2 separate regions of the Homo sapiens genome follow, and region 1 is linked to region 2. Evidence: promoter capture Hi-C in 16 types of primary human blood cells and fetal thymus (Javierre and others, 2016). All regions are on one chromosome and are shown on one strand. Each heading gives the region's core, a stretch centred on a gene start or on the middle of the fragment in contact. The rest is flanking DNA. Distances are from core to core; before and after follow the strand shown. Region 1 overlaps SH3D19 (SH3 domain containing 19). Region 2 holds the start of TMEM154 (transmembrane protein 154).

The links. The method cuts DNA at HindIII sites, captures the fragments that hold promoters and counts their contacts. A CHiCAGO score of 5 or more calls a contact.
Region 1: a fragment that was not itself captured here is called in contact with the fragment with the promoter of TMEM154 in region 2 in 1 of 17 cell types (total CD8 T cells); the score reaches 8.4 in total CD8 T cells.

Annotation. Positions count from the first base shown.
Region 1 is chr4:151,115,110-151,122,476 of GRCh38, forward strand. SH3D19 (SH3 domain containing 19) reads right to left here. Exons shown (of 20, transcript NM_001378122.1): 20 at 5,172-7,098. The coding sequence ends at 6,982. Among named protein-coding and RNA genes, the nearest start is that of SH3D19-AS1, 5.4 kb to the right of the region's middle. The HindIII fragment of the contact is 3,783 bases long and covers 1-3,373 here.
Region 2 is chr4:152,674,831-152,681,865 of GRCh38, forward strand. TMEM154 (transmembrane protein 154) reads right to left here and starts at 5,167. Exons shown (of 7, transcript NM_152680.3): 1 at 5,040-5,167. The coding sequence starts at 5,103. LOC105377495 (a long non-coding RNA gene) reads left to right here and starts at 5,255. Exons shown (of 4, transcript XR_939359.3): 1 at 5,255-5,474; 2 at 5,757-5,843; 3 at 6,245-6,310; 4 at 6,533-6,832. RefSeq lists enhancers at 1,644-1,733, 4,801-5,630, 4,941-5,250. The HindIII fragment of the contact is 2,211 bases long and covers 4,699-6,909 here.

The sequences.
Region 1 (7,367 bases), core at 232-2,731, 1.6 Mb before region 2:
AGTAATAATCTTTAGTATCTTTAAATATCCAGTCATACCAATTTAATGAGTCATTAATTCTCTGACGTAACGCTGTGATAGGCAATGCAAGTGTGACAGCTATGAAGGGTAATGAGTTTCCATTTGCTAAGATCATTTAAGAAGTCAAAGTAGGGCTGGGTGCGGTGGCTCACACCTGTAATCCCAGTACTTTGGGAGGGTGAGGCGGGTGGATCACCTGAGGACAGGAGTTCAAGACCAGCCTGGCCAAAGTGGCGAAACTCCATGTCTACTAAAAATACAAAAAATTGGCTGGGCACGGTGGCTCATGCCTATAATCCCAGCACTTTGGGAGGCCAAGGCGGGTGGATCACCTGAGGTCATGAGTTTGAGACCAGCCTGACCAACATGGTGAAATCCTGTCTTTACTAAAAATATAAAAATTAGCTGGGCATGGTGGTGGGCACCTGTAATCCCAGCTACTTGGGAGGCTGAGGCAGGAGAATTGCTTCAACCCAGGAGGCAGAGGTTGCGGTGAGCCAAAATCACACCATTGCACTCCAGCCTGGGTTGACGAGCGAAACTCCATCTCAAAAATAAAAATACAGATACAAAAAACTAGCAAAGCGTGGTGGCGGGCACCTCTAATCCTAGCTACTTCGGAGGCTGAGGCACGAGAATTGCTGGAACCTGGGGGCAGAGGTTGCAGTGAGCCAAGATCGCACCATTGGACTCCAGCCTGGGCAGCAAGGGCAAAACTACGTCTCAGAAAAAAAAAAAAAAAAAGAAGTCAAGGCAGAAAAATTATTGCAGGTGTCAGCTCCTAGAAGTGTATAACATCCATCCCGGCCCTATTATTATTTTTTTGATACATATATGTATATACACGTATATATGTGTATGTATATATATGTGTATATGTGCATGTATATGTAAGTATATATGTGTATATTACCACATATACATTTGTGTATACGTATATGTATATATGTATGTGTATATGTATATACATACACGCATACATACGTATGTGTATATGTATGTATATATTTAAAGTGTGTGTATGTGTATACACATATGTGTATATGTATATATGTGCATACATATGTATAAATGCATGCATGTATACATGTATACGTATATATACATATACACATACGTATGTATACATATGTATGTATACACTGCATATACATACATATGTATGTATACACTATGCATATACATACATATGTATATATACACATGTATGTATATACTATGCATACACATACATATGTATATATACACACGTGTACACACATATACATATGCGTATACATTCATACACACATACATGTATACACACATACATATACACATACACATATATACATATATGTATATATACACACACACACATTTTTTTTTTGAGATGGTGTCACTCTCTGTTGCCCAGACTGCAGTGCAGTGGCATAATCTCAGCTCACTGCAACCTCCATTTCCCAGGTTTGCGCAATTCTCCTGCCTCACCCAGTAGCTGGGATTACAGGCCCACGCCACCATAGCCTGGCTAATTTTTGTATTTTTAGTAGAGACAGGGTTTCACCATGTTGGCCAGGCTGGTTTTGAACTCCTGACCTCAGGTTATCCACCCGCCTTGGCCTCCCAAAGTGCTGAGATTACAGGCGTGAGTCATAGTGCTCAGCCAGAGGCCAATATTTTGGTATTGTTAGTTAATTTTTGTGAAACATAGACAACCAAATATTTCATTTAATTATTGCCTAATTTACAGTACTTGAAGATAAATAATCCATGGTATACATATAATTAGAATTCCTTTAAAAAAATCAGAATATGTCTCAGACTCTGAAATATAAATCTATCAGCTTAACAGTGCTTTGGTTAATCTATTATACTCCAAAATACTAATAACAGTGTTTTGTGTTATATTTTAATGAAAATCTAGATTTATGATTGCTCTACTGTTGCCAAGGGCACAGCCCTACAAGATACAGCTGTACAAGATCTGATGTTCTAAATTTTTGAATATTTTCTATTAAAGAGAAAAAGGAATCCACATTAGTGGATCCATTCATGTTTCAGTTTCTAGGTAACATCAATATAAATTGTCCACATAAAACCAAGAAGCTGACAGGACTTTTCTTCCTGAAGGATAAAACTTCAAGGCTTTAATACATACTGTGTAATTCTTTCTAATCGTTAAGTATTAGAGGCTACAACCACTACAGGCCAATGAAACGGATCAATTCTTCTTGTTTAACTGCTAAAAAAAATGTTATCACTTTGCCATAATAAACGGAAAAAGAACTGGATTGGAAATCCGCAGAGATAGGTTTTACTTTAGGCTCTGCAAGTAACTGTGACTTTAGGCAAATCATTTAACCTCTGCAAGTTGAACTCTGGTCTCCAAGGGCTCTCTTCTGTGGTATAACAGGATGAGCTCGCAATTAAGAGAGCGGCCCCTAGATGGTAGTGTTGTTCTGAGTCAGGCTTTCTATTTTTTTTCCTTCTTTAATTACAGTGAAGTAAAAAGGCACAAGTTAGAAAATGACTTCACGTTAGTTCTGAAAAAAATTCAGTTGGCTGGACAAGGTGGCTCACGCCTGCAAACCCAGCACTTTGAGAGGCCGAGGCGAGAAGACTGCTTGAGCTCAGGAGTTCAACACCAGCCTGGGTAACATGGTGAAACCCCGTCTTTACAAAAAATAAAAAATTAGGCTGGATGCCGGGGCTCACGCCTGTAATCCCAGCACTTTCAGAGGCCGAGGCGGATGGATCACTTGAGGTCAGGAGTTCAAGACCTGTCTGGCCAACATGATGAAACCTGGTCCCTACTAAAAATACAAAAAAATTAGCGGGGCACAGTGGTGCGTGCCCGTAATCCTAGCTACTCAGGAGGCTGAGGCAGGGGAATCACTTGAACCTGAGAGGCAGAGGCTGCAGTGAGCCCAGATTGTGCCATTGCACTCCAGCCTGGGCAACAGAGCAAGACTCCACCTCAAAAAATAAAATGAAAAAAATAATAAATTAGCCAAATATGGTGGCACATGCCTGTAGTCCCAGTTACTCGGGAGGCTGAGGTGGGAGGAACACTTGAGGCCAAGAGTCTAAGGCTGCAGTGAGCCAAGATCATGCCATTGCACTCCAACCTGGGCAACAAAGTGAGACCCTGTCTCTAAAATACAATACAATAAAATAAAATAATAAATTCACTGTGAAGAATTCATTCAATGGCATTCAAAATGACATTGAATCATGAATCATATGGCTCATGTGCATTTGACATTAATTAAAAGAAATAAACCATTAATGATTATACCAAAGTGAATATATCGCCTTATAATTATTAGTCCATACAGTCATCATTATTTTCTCTAGGTATATTTAGGTAAGCTTAAGAAACTGAGTAAAAACTAAGAAATGAATGTTAGGAGTATTGATCTACAATCTTATAGAAAAATTTTTTTTTCAAATGCAAGTTCTACTAATAAATTCTGATAAACGCACTTTCTTTCATTTTGAATATTACAGACTGAATTCAAGACCTGTGATTTATATGAGCACAATGACAGATATATTCCATTACCCTTCTAGCCATGTAAACAAGGGCATCTTTTAAAGAAAAACGCTTTTAGTGTTCAAAGGATAAGAATAATATATTAAATGGCTTCTCTAGGTTTTTTTTCAACTGAGTCGCCTTGCTTGGAAAGGCTTCTCTAGGTTTTTTTTTGTTTTTGAGACGGAGTCTCACTCTGTCGCTTAGGCTGGAGTGCAGTGGCGCGATCTCGGTTCACTGCAAGCTCCGCCTCCTGGCTTCACACCATTCTCCTGCCTCAGCCTCCCGAGTAGCTGGGACTACAGGTGCCCGCCACCACGCCCGGCTAATTTTTTGTATTTTTAGTAGAGACAGGGTTTCACCGTGTCAGCCAGGATGGTCTCGATCTCCTGACCTCGTGATCCGCCTGCCTCGGCCTCCCAAAGTGCTGGGATTACAGTCGTGAGCCACCGCGCCCAGCCCTCTAGGTTTAATTTATCAAAGAAAAAGGATTAAGAGATTCTAGTTTGAGGAGGTTTAGATGAACAAGATCAGATTTTAACCTAAAATTCCTGAAAGGAAACAGAATGTGTTCCTATTTCTCTCCCATAAAATTCACTGAGTATAAAAATTATGTTTCTCCTTAAACATGCTCAGTCTTGCCTTGAATTCAATCAATATACAGAATAAGAAAGTACCTATGAGGCCGGGCTCGGTGGCTCACGCCTGTAATCCCAGCACTTTGGGAGGCCGAGGTGGGTGGATCACGAGGTCAAAAGATCGAGACCATCCTGGCTAACACGATGAAGTCCCGTCTCTACTAAAAATACAAAAAATTAGCCGGGCGTGGTGGTGGGCGCTTGTAGTCCCAGCTACTCAGGAGGCTGCGGCAGGAGAATGGCGTGAACCCTGGAGGTGGAGCTTGCAGTGAGCCAAGATCGTGCCTCCGCACTCCAGCCTGGGCGATAGAGGGAGACTCCATCTCAAAAAAAAAAAAAAAAAAAAGAAAGTATCTACGAGAGCCCATATGTTACCTTTTTGCTTCCTGTCAGTTGAGTAGGTAATAAGTGGCAAGCACAACATAGAACATGAGAGTGAAATGACATAAAACTGTGAATTTTTAGTATAGATTTATGTCAAAAATTAAAGAGGAAAGATATTGAGTGAATCCAAGATGGTATTGCTGTATGTGAAAGTCATTCATCCATCCATCCATCCATTCCAACCAACCAACTCACCCAACCCACCAACCAACCTTTATTGAGGCTGAATGGTGCAAAGGACTAGAGATACAAAGATAAATAAGGTACCACAGGCCAGGTGCAGTAATACCAGCACTTTGGGAGGCTGAGGCAGGCAGACTGCTTGAGCCCAGGTGTTTGAAACCAGCCTGGGCAACATGGCGAAACCCTGTCTCTACAAAAAGAAAAAAAAATACCAGAAATTAGCTGGGCACGGTGGTGTGCGCCTGTAGTCCCAGCTACTCAGGAGGCTGTGGCAGGAGAATCACTTGAGCCCAGGAGGCAGAGGCTGCAGTGAGCCAACATTGCATTGCACTCCAGCCTGGTCAAAGGGAATTAAATCCTGTCTCAAAAAAAAAAAAAAAAAAGATACCACCTCCATTCTCAAAAAACTCAGTCTAGTATGAGAAAGGGACTTTGAAAGTTCAGTTCAGTTTATTACAGTGTCAAGTAGATTTACAACTATTGCACTTATCATTCTGCTGACAGAAGGCCAAAACTGAAGATTGAGATTTTCCTCTAATAAAGATAGGTTTTCAGAATCTTCAATATAAGATGTTAAAATTATAAAGGCAAAGATATATACCTCATGTTCCATTCCATATCCTTCCTGCTGTTGTACAGTTTGCTGCAAATGATAATTTAATTTGGATAATGCTTTAAATCATTGATTTCTCATGAAATTACTTTTGAGTGAAATTTGACAAGAATTTTCTTTATACTCTCTTCTTTACCAAAACGTATTAGAAGTCCCCATAGTCCAAAATAAAATGTAACCATAGAATGGGGAGATAACTTTAGTCAAAGACCAAGTAAATATTACCTTCTTTGCAGAACTCCAGGTTGTAGTCACGTAAAAGTGTGGCCACTTGTTGCTTAACTTTTTGGACAATGGGAAAAAAAAAACAATAAAAGCTAAAATGTGGTCCAGCATATGAAACTCTTCTCAAAAACAGAAGAAAGTCATGACCATTGTTGGGAAAGTGTTTTACATTTCCAATGAAATTCTATTCCATTGATCTGTTTGGATGATTGTCTTCAACCTATTTGGCTCTAGCCCATAAATTGTAATTGATTCAGTCATGTAAAGAACCACTTTTATCTTAAGCTTAGAATTTATAACAATGGAAAGCAGGAAAGTGGTTTTTCATTCACTCTAATAATTGTGCAGGGATAAGCTAGAGAAAAAATAAAACAAAAAAGTACCAGTCTTCTGTCCTCTTAAATTATTTTTCATTCTGATTATATTACAAAGAAATGAGCTGTGGAGGTTTGGCACTGTTTTCCATCTTAACAGTTGTTCTGTATTGTAAGATTTTATATGTGATTCATAATGTACTACTATAACAAGACACAGTTTTTATATATTACTGGAATAATGCAAAGAAAATGAATTTTCCTTTGGGTCCAGTAATTGTCAAAGGAATGATTGCAGATTCAGAAAATGTGCTTTGTAATAACCCTGTTAACATAAAGTATACACTGAGGAAAAAAATAAGTATGGCACATATATGGAAGGATTAGTTGTATTAGCAAGGCATTTCAGGGATGGTTTTGGTTCTTTAGACTAAGTAAGATACATCCAATTTAGACCCCCTTCAAATCCTTAGACAAATGGGAATCACTTGGTAACATAAAGATTATTTTGGTGGGCAGGGGCTGATTTCACCATGTGCTTACAAATGCTCCAACTAGTCAGTAAACTATCCCATCTGAAGGAAGGATTTGCTCTGGTAATAAGGCTGATATGCTCAAGCTGTAAGAATTAATTTGAATATCAAAAATGAAATTGAGATTGCTAACCATGTCCTGATAGTTACAGCATGTAGAATATTAAATGTCCTCTTTTTTAACTAAAGTAAAAAAATGAAGAAGCATGGTTAATTCACTTGTGCTGATTAAAACAGATGTCCACGTGCAACTTCTGTGTGTGAGCCTCCCCATGCTGCCATGCCACCAGATGCTTTCCCTTCACCTTGCTAATCCCACTAGATGTTTTCCTCGGTAGAATCCTAGCTCATGGGTTTCCATGTGCATGTTTCTATTGTAATGAAAATTAACTACAAAATCTGAACGTTTTCTGCTTTCAGAAAATTCTAGTGTACCATGTACAGCTTAGATATTTCTTTTTCAGTTAAAAAAAATAGTGCAAAAACATATCTGATAGTCAAGGTGATAGTTCAAGTGAGTTCTTGTGCCAAGGAACACAGACAAGCTTCTCCTCTAGCTGATCTGTAGAAACTGTATGTAGTTTTTGGGAAATATTCCAGATTTTCCCATAAGTTCTCCACTCATCCAGTCATCATCTACAGATTCCAGCTCTGTTATTATATCTCCAGCCTGTAAGACAAAAGGAGTTAGAATTACTGGTTTCTGTTGAGAATAAGCATGGTAAATAGTGGCCTACCTAGGGCAGCATGAATAATCTTCTCTGTATAACTCATTTATCTTGATTGTTGAGAATTAAATGACAACAATGATCTATACCTAATGATGCCATTTGCTTGTAAGCCTCTATCCCTTAAATCTCATTCCTTTGCCACTGCCACCCTTGCTGCACTTTGATTTTCCCTCTTATACTTTGTGCCTCTCAAATTCACCACTCCTAA
Region 2 (7,035 bases), core at 3,917-6,416:
TGCTCTCAGGGCCCCCACGATTTCCATCAAGAATGGGAGGCAAGGCCAGGTGCGGTGGCTCATGCCTGTAATCCCAACACACTGGGAAGCCGAGGTGAGTGGATCACCTGAAGTCAGGAGTTCAAGACCAGCCTGGCCAACATAGTGAAACCCTGTCTGTACTAAAAATACAAAAATCAGCCAGGTGTGGTGGCATGCGCCTATAATCCCAGCTACTGGGGAGGGTGAGGCAGGAGAATCGGCTTGAACCCAGGAAGTGGAGGTTGCAGTGAGCCGAGATCACACCACTGTGCTCCAGCCTGGGCAGCAGAGCGAGGCTCCATCTCAAAAAAAAAAAAAAAAAAAAAGAATGTGAGGCAACAGATATGACAAGCGGCAAGATTATGTCTACACAAACTTTAGCTAAAAGTTACCAAATAGATAATAAGATGTTTAAAATAATGACATAAAAGAAGGAATAAATAACACAAGGGAAAAAAACCCAAAGCACAATGTGTATAAAAAAAGAACACATAGGCCAGGTGAGGTGGCTCATGCCTGTAATCTTAGCACTTTGGGAGGCCGAGGAGGGTGGATCTCCTGCGGTCGCGAGTTTGAGACCAGCCTGACCAACATGGAGAAACCCCATCTCTACTAAAAATACAAAATTAGCCGGGTGTGCTGGCACATGCCTGTAATCCCAGCTACTCGGGAGGCTGAGGCAGGAGAATCGCTTGAACCCACAAGGCAGAGGTTGCGGTGAGCCAAGATCGTGCCATTGCACTCCAGCCTGGGCAACGAGAGTGAAACTCTGTCTCAAAAAGAAAAAAAAAAAACAAATTTTCTAGAAATGCCAAATAATGATGACTAAAATTAAAAGCCCAATGGATGGCTTGACCGTCAAGATAGACAAGGTGATTGCACTAATCTACCCTCGGACCAGTAGTGCAGAGTTCCTGTCTCTCCATATCTTTGCCAACATTTGAGAGTGGTACAAACTACATACGAATAGGCAAGCTGCAGTTTGCATTGCTTCATTACAGAATTGAGCCCATCCCAGTCAATATCTTCCCTCTTATGGTTTCCTGGGATTCCAAATTTCAGACACAGAAGGACTTTAAAGCTCATCCTCTCTGTCTGTTTTTTGGGGGAGTCCCTTAGAGTATTTGGTCGTAATGGCCAGTTCTCAGTAGGGCTCTCCCACAGTGACTGCCTGACATAAGGCTGTTCTTCTCCTCGCTGGTTCCCACACCCTGAAGCCTCTTACCCAGTGACTTCAACATTCTGTTTTTCCTGCTTCTAGTCTTAAATCCCCAGATTCTCTTGTGCTCACTCTGCACCTCTTTCAGCCCCTCCCTTCCTCCTCAGCAGTCTGAGTTTTAACCCAACTCTCATCATTCCTCTTCCTCTCAGCCAGTCTCTGACCCAGTGCAAACAAATGCAGCTCTATAATTGACATGCAGCCACCGCAAAGCCTAGCCAAGAGTTCTGTGCTGCACCTACAGCTGGAAAGGTTCAACAACCACAGTTTTCTAAACCCAAAACTAAACGAGTAGCCTGGCAGAGCTTGGAAACCCAGAGGTAGTATGGAGTATGGTTAGAGAATGGACTCCTGAGGCAGAATCTTACTTAGATTCACTAATTAGCTGTGTGACCTTGGGCAAGTCACTTAGCCTCTCTGTGCCTCAGTTTTCTCAAATGTAAAAACAGGGATAATAGTGCCCACCTTATAAGGTTGTTCTGAGAATTAAATGAGTTAGTGAATGTAGCATTTAGAATAGTGCCTGACCTATAATGAGTTCTATATATGTTAGCTACTATTGTTATTAATACTTGAAATTGGGACTGTCCCAGGAAACAGCAGATGTCAGCCGTGTTCATTAAAATAAGATATGAGATACCACAGTGTCAGAATGTGTAGCCTTACTTACATAGCTAGTATTTTCTACTATTCTTTCTCTCCTTGTCAAGATTCATCCAATACTTATATAATTCTTATTCTTCTGAACCAGCCCAGAAAATCTCCCATTCCTCTCTGTTTGGCCACCAAAACAGTCACAGCATCCTTGTTTCTGCCTCATGGCCTTCAGCTCTCCCTTCTGCAACAATTCTGCTTTTAGCAACTAACAAATCCCATGCTTTTGGTATTTAGGAAATTGCTTTTGGTTTTCTGATAGTATTAAGCTGACACTGACAGGGCATAAAGAACAGAGACGGGGACACCCCTGCCCCACTTTACTCCATGAGCAGAACATCTCCTTGAGTTTGAACTTTCTTAGGATCCTACACTGGCCAAGGCACCTAGGCCCAAGCTTTCCTTTAACTATGCTCACCCATTCCATTATAGTCCCAGAAAAGCTGCTTTCTTATTTCTCTCCTGGTGACTTCCAAGTGAATTATTTCTCTTGGGGTAGAACTCAATTCTATGTCAGGCTATCTATCTCTAAAAAGAGAAGAGGTCGCTGACTCAGAGGTAACAGTGCTGGTCTCATGCAACTGCAGATATTATCTCATGTTGCCTGCTCGTTGTTAATAAAGGCTTAATTTGAGATACATCTCAGAGTATACTCACAAACAGTGTCAGGCCCTTCAGTAGGTTGGATTCATCTAACAAACATCCCCAGGTATTTTTTGAAGAATTCAAGGAAATATACCTGTGACACCTAGAAAGTAACTCATATCCTGAAGCCTTAGGCACTATTAGCTAAAAGTAGTGTACATTAATTAATTTTAAAAATCTTTAATTTAAAATCACCTTTTCCATGATGAATCATCTCAAAGTCATAGCTTTTATTCAACAGCTTTTTGCAAGTGGGCATTTTTCAGACATTGGGAATCCCAGCAGGGCCCAATTAGCATGTTGGATTATTTAGGTAATCCCTGCACTCTACTGAAATGCAACTTTTCATCTTTGACTTCTCTTTACATTCCAACACTACCTGTTTTCAGGAGCTATCAGTTTTTTTTGTAATCAGCCTCATATCCATTCTAGGGATGATTTTCATATTTATCAACAATTATTTTCTCATTTATGCTGAGCCCTTACAGGATTTTGGAAAGTCAAAGGTGAACTACAGAGGATTTTCCCTGGAGCTGTTCACAGCCAGTTGGGAGGCATGGACACAATTATGGTTCAAAGTGATTAGCAGAAGTTTAGGTCTATCGGGGCACAGCAGCAGGTACGAGTAGAGCTCCAGGGAAGGGGCAGAGAAAGGAGACATCAAGGAGGAGATCACATTTAGTTTGATACTTTTAAGGTGATACAAGAATTTGCTAGGTAGGAAAAAGAATGTATTCATTATAGGCAAGAGCCACGGAGGGGGACGACAACTGGAAGGAGGTGCCACTGGGAAGGAGGTTGCAGTGAGAGTCTAAGGGGCAAAAATGAGGAACAAGTGAAGGGGCATAAATGAGGGGTCCTTAAGGGGGAAGATGTGCACGATCAGATTCAGGTGTCAGAAAGGCAACTTTAACCAAGTCTCTTCAGATTCTCTTTTTGCATCTCCTGAATTGCAGACACTAGGACTCAATCATTTTTTAGAAGCTAAAAAAAAAGTTCAGGCAAGATGAATTAGTATTAAGGGAGTGTTTGAGGCACCTGTGGCAGTGTTGTGCAATAGAAGAGGTGGAAGGAGGATGGCTAGGCTTTTCTTCCCTGATGTCCTACTACGAAAGGTTCCAGAGCTCTTGGCAGAGACAGTGATTGGTTCCGGGGCGGCGGTGGGGGGAGGGGGGCAGTGGTGGTGGGGGGTGGAGGAGCTCAAAGAACTCTGGAGTAGAAGCCAGAAGAGCTGACTAGCAGCAAGACCCAGACATCTCCCTTCTTCCACCTCTGTTTCTTCACCTGTGTGCCCAATATGGTTTGAGCTGCATCATCTTCAAGTTCCCTTCCAGCTCCAAAACACTGGGCATAAAACAACACATCAACTTCCAAACCCACTCTGAACACTAAACTCAATTTAACCAGACATCTTTTCAGCTGGAATGATTTGCCTTCCACTTTGTTTTCTACCTCAGATGCCTGGGGGACCACATGGAGAACACCCAGGGGAAGAGAAATTGATGGAGTGGGGTGGCTGGGTGCTGGCTGCTGACCTCCAGGAAGTTGTCACATCTGTTAGGTTGGGGCTGATGTCCCTCATTCTATCTAAAGAACTGTAGCTTGAGAACTTTCCTTTTGCTTGGTAAATACTGCCCTACACTAGAAGCAGTCGGTGTTCATTGACAGAAACAATGGGCAGCCAGTGTATTTGCCCAAAGGCAAGTCAACAAGAGAGGCAGCTGAAGGTGCTTGTGCTTGTTGTAGCAACTGGCAAGGGTGTAAATCAGTTGTTGCTTTTAGCCCATAATAATGAGATTCAATATTGTTTTTTCCAATACCTTTGATTGGTTCCAATCATATTACTTTTTCAAACAAATCTTCATTAGTAACAATCAATGCAAAAAAAAAATCTGTAAAAGTAACAAGGTGCAATAAAAGTAGATGAAAGACCTTACTTGATGTGTTAGAGGGCTACCCTCTAACACATAGCTCTTTGGTAGCTCTTCGGATAATTTCCCGTTTCCTTTTTTTTTTTTTAAGTTTATGTCGTTTCTTTAGTATGCTTTCTAGTAGTAAATTTTCACACCCCAGTTTTTCCAGGAGATTTTGGAATCAGCAGACTTCTCAGCCCACACCATAAAAAGCAAATTAATCATGTCTCTGTTTCAGCCAATTGAAGCTTTTGTTTTTTTTTACATAAACTGCCAAAAAGTTTATGGTTTTCTTAATATGCCCATTAAAGCTGGTAAATTACAGGGACGCACACTTCCTGGAAGACAAAGACTGAAAGAGGGTTAAATGAAGTGAGAGCTGTAGCCAGTTTAGACAGCTGCAGCGAAAGCGAAGTCCCCTCTCCATCCCACCCCCCAAAAAAAGGAGTTCTAATTTTCTCCACTTCTTTCACAGAAAGGATTAGATTTTCTGGGTGTCACCCTCCCCGGCAGAGTTCTGTAGCCTCGGGCACCCTACCAGCTTTTGCGATCCTCCTTCCCAGGAGTAGGAAGTGGAGGCGGCTTACCCCGGCCGACGGGAACGAGCGCGATCACCAGGGCGAAGACTAGGGCTGCGCGGGGAGCCTGCATGTCCGCTCGCCTCGGCAGAGGCGCGCTCAGGATGCTGCGCCGGGCTGCAGCCTCTCTGAAACGTGAACATTTCCTGTTTCCTGCTTGTTTGGGTCGGTGCTGACTTGAAGGAGAGGTGTGTGCCTGTTTTTTAGGAAGTGATGTAATTCTGCAGGAGCCTGTCAGACCAGCAAGGATTGCAAAAGAGAAGTTGCTGTTGAAGCACTGGTTCTATTATCACGCCTCTCCAGCCCTTTGGAGTCCCGGCCTCCAGCTTTTGAAACCGTCCCCGGGGCAACAGAGTCCCTTGCTCAGATGTCGTTCGGTATCTGGGACTGGGAGGGGTCCTGGACCACACGCATTCTCACTCTGTGATTTTGCTTATCCCCCAGGTGAGGCTCCGGGGCTGCCTAGACCCTAGGAAGAAGCTGTCCTGTAGAACTTTCTGCCCTGATGGAAATGTTCCAAGTCTGCGCCGTCTGATACAGTATCAGCCACATTGGCCACTGAGCATTTGAACTGAGGCTAGTGCTGATGGAATTTAAATTTTATTGAATTTTTATAAAATTTTAATAACTCCAAGTGGCTAGTGGCTGCTGTGTTGGATAGCGCAGGCCCAGACAGCAGGGACAACTGCATCATCAGAAAACTGCCAGACCACTTCTCTCCGCCAGGTCCATTCTCCTTTCTCCACTCTGGAATGCCCTCCTCCCACCAAGGCCCACGCCAGATGGAGGTGGATGCCACACCCACACCTTAAGGTTATGTTCTGCTTCCCCAGAGAGAAATGATCTTTTCAAGGTCCATTTCCAAAGGAGAATATGCTCTGAGGGTGGAGGTAGGGGTGAATCTGCATCTCACCTTCCTTCCTTCTTACTTGACAATCAAGTTCTCAGACAACAAACAAAACAGGACAGAAACGAAATAGAATAATGGTAGAAATCCTATCCAATCGAAACAATACAGAAAGGTTGTGTCTAGTATACAGTGGAGATTAGTGTGTGTTGGGTGTTCTATTGGAGGTCCTTCCCTTGGTTTAGGTTTAGGGCCTAAGCATTCAGAATGCAGTTTCATAATCGTGGTGCCAAGAGAGACAGACAGATGGAGAGAGGGGTAGTGTTGAGGCATCAGACACATCTCATCTCTAAACCTTTCCCTGCAGATCACCATCTGAGTCATGACTTCCCGTCGTTTGTCTTCAGTGATCTGGTTGGTGCAAACGTATGAGGTGACTGGAATTCCTTAGCCCCTGACATAGCTGTTAATTTTTCTTTAATGCATTGCTGCTTTTCAATGTCATTAGTCACTGTTTATCTCAGTTATTATTCACAAGAAATAGGTTGGTGATTCATGTAAGGATCAGTTTGTTAATGGATTTACAGTATGCACTTTAATGTTTTAAACTGGCAATTAAGTCAATTCTTGATAAAATATGCTTTTTGCACCACAGGTGACAATACAGAACAAACAGCAGGAGAAAATAGACGTGCTCAAAACTGGGTGATTGATTTGAAAACAACAGAGAAAGAACTATTAATTAAACACTTGCTGAGCATGTGAATAGATCACGGGCTCCAAGACCTGCTGGTACTGAGTTGGGGTGGCAATTATTCCTGTACAAGCACGTGTTTCTGCAGCTGTGACACACACGTGCAAGAAAGCAGGCCCAGGGCTTGGGAGTTCTCTCCATTTTACCATTTATGCCCTATTAAAATATTATTAAATGTTATTAAAACATTGTTGAATCCCAGGCTGGAGGCAAATGTTTGTCAAGGGCAAGGTTGTCAGCCTTCGTTTCTTTCATCTTAAACTTCAGCTCCCTGTGGAAGCTTTTGCAGTCAGGTGTCTGTGGATTGGACCACAGACTGTCTTATTCTGTGGACCTCTGCTGAGCCCCATGACATGGCCAAACAGTTCATTACTGTTTCAACAAGTGCACTATGCATTGCTTCT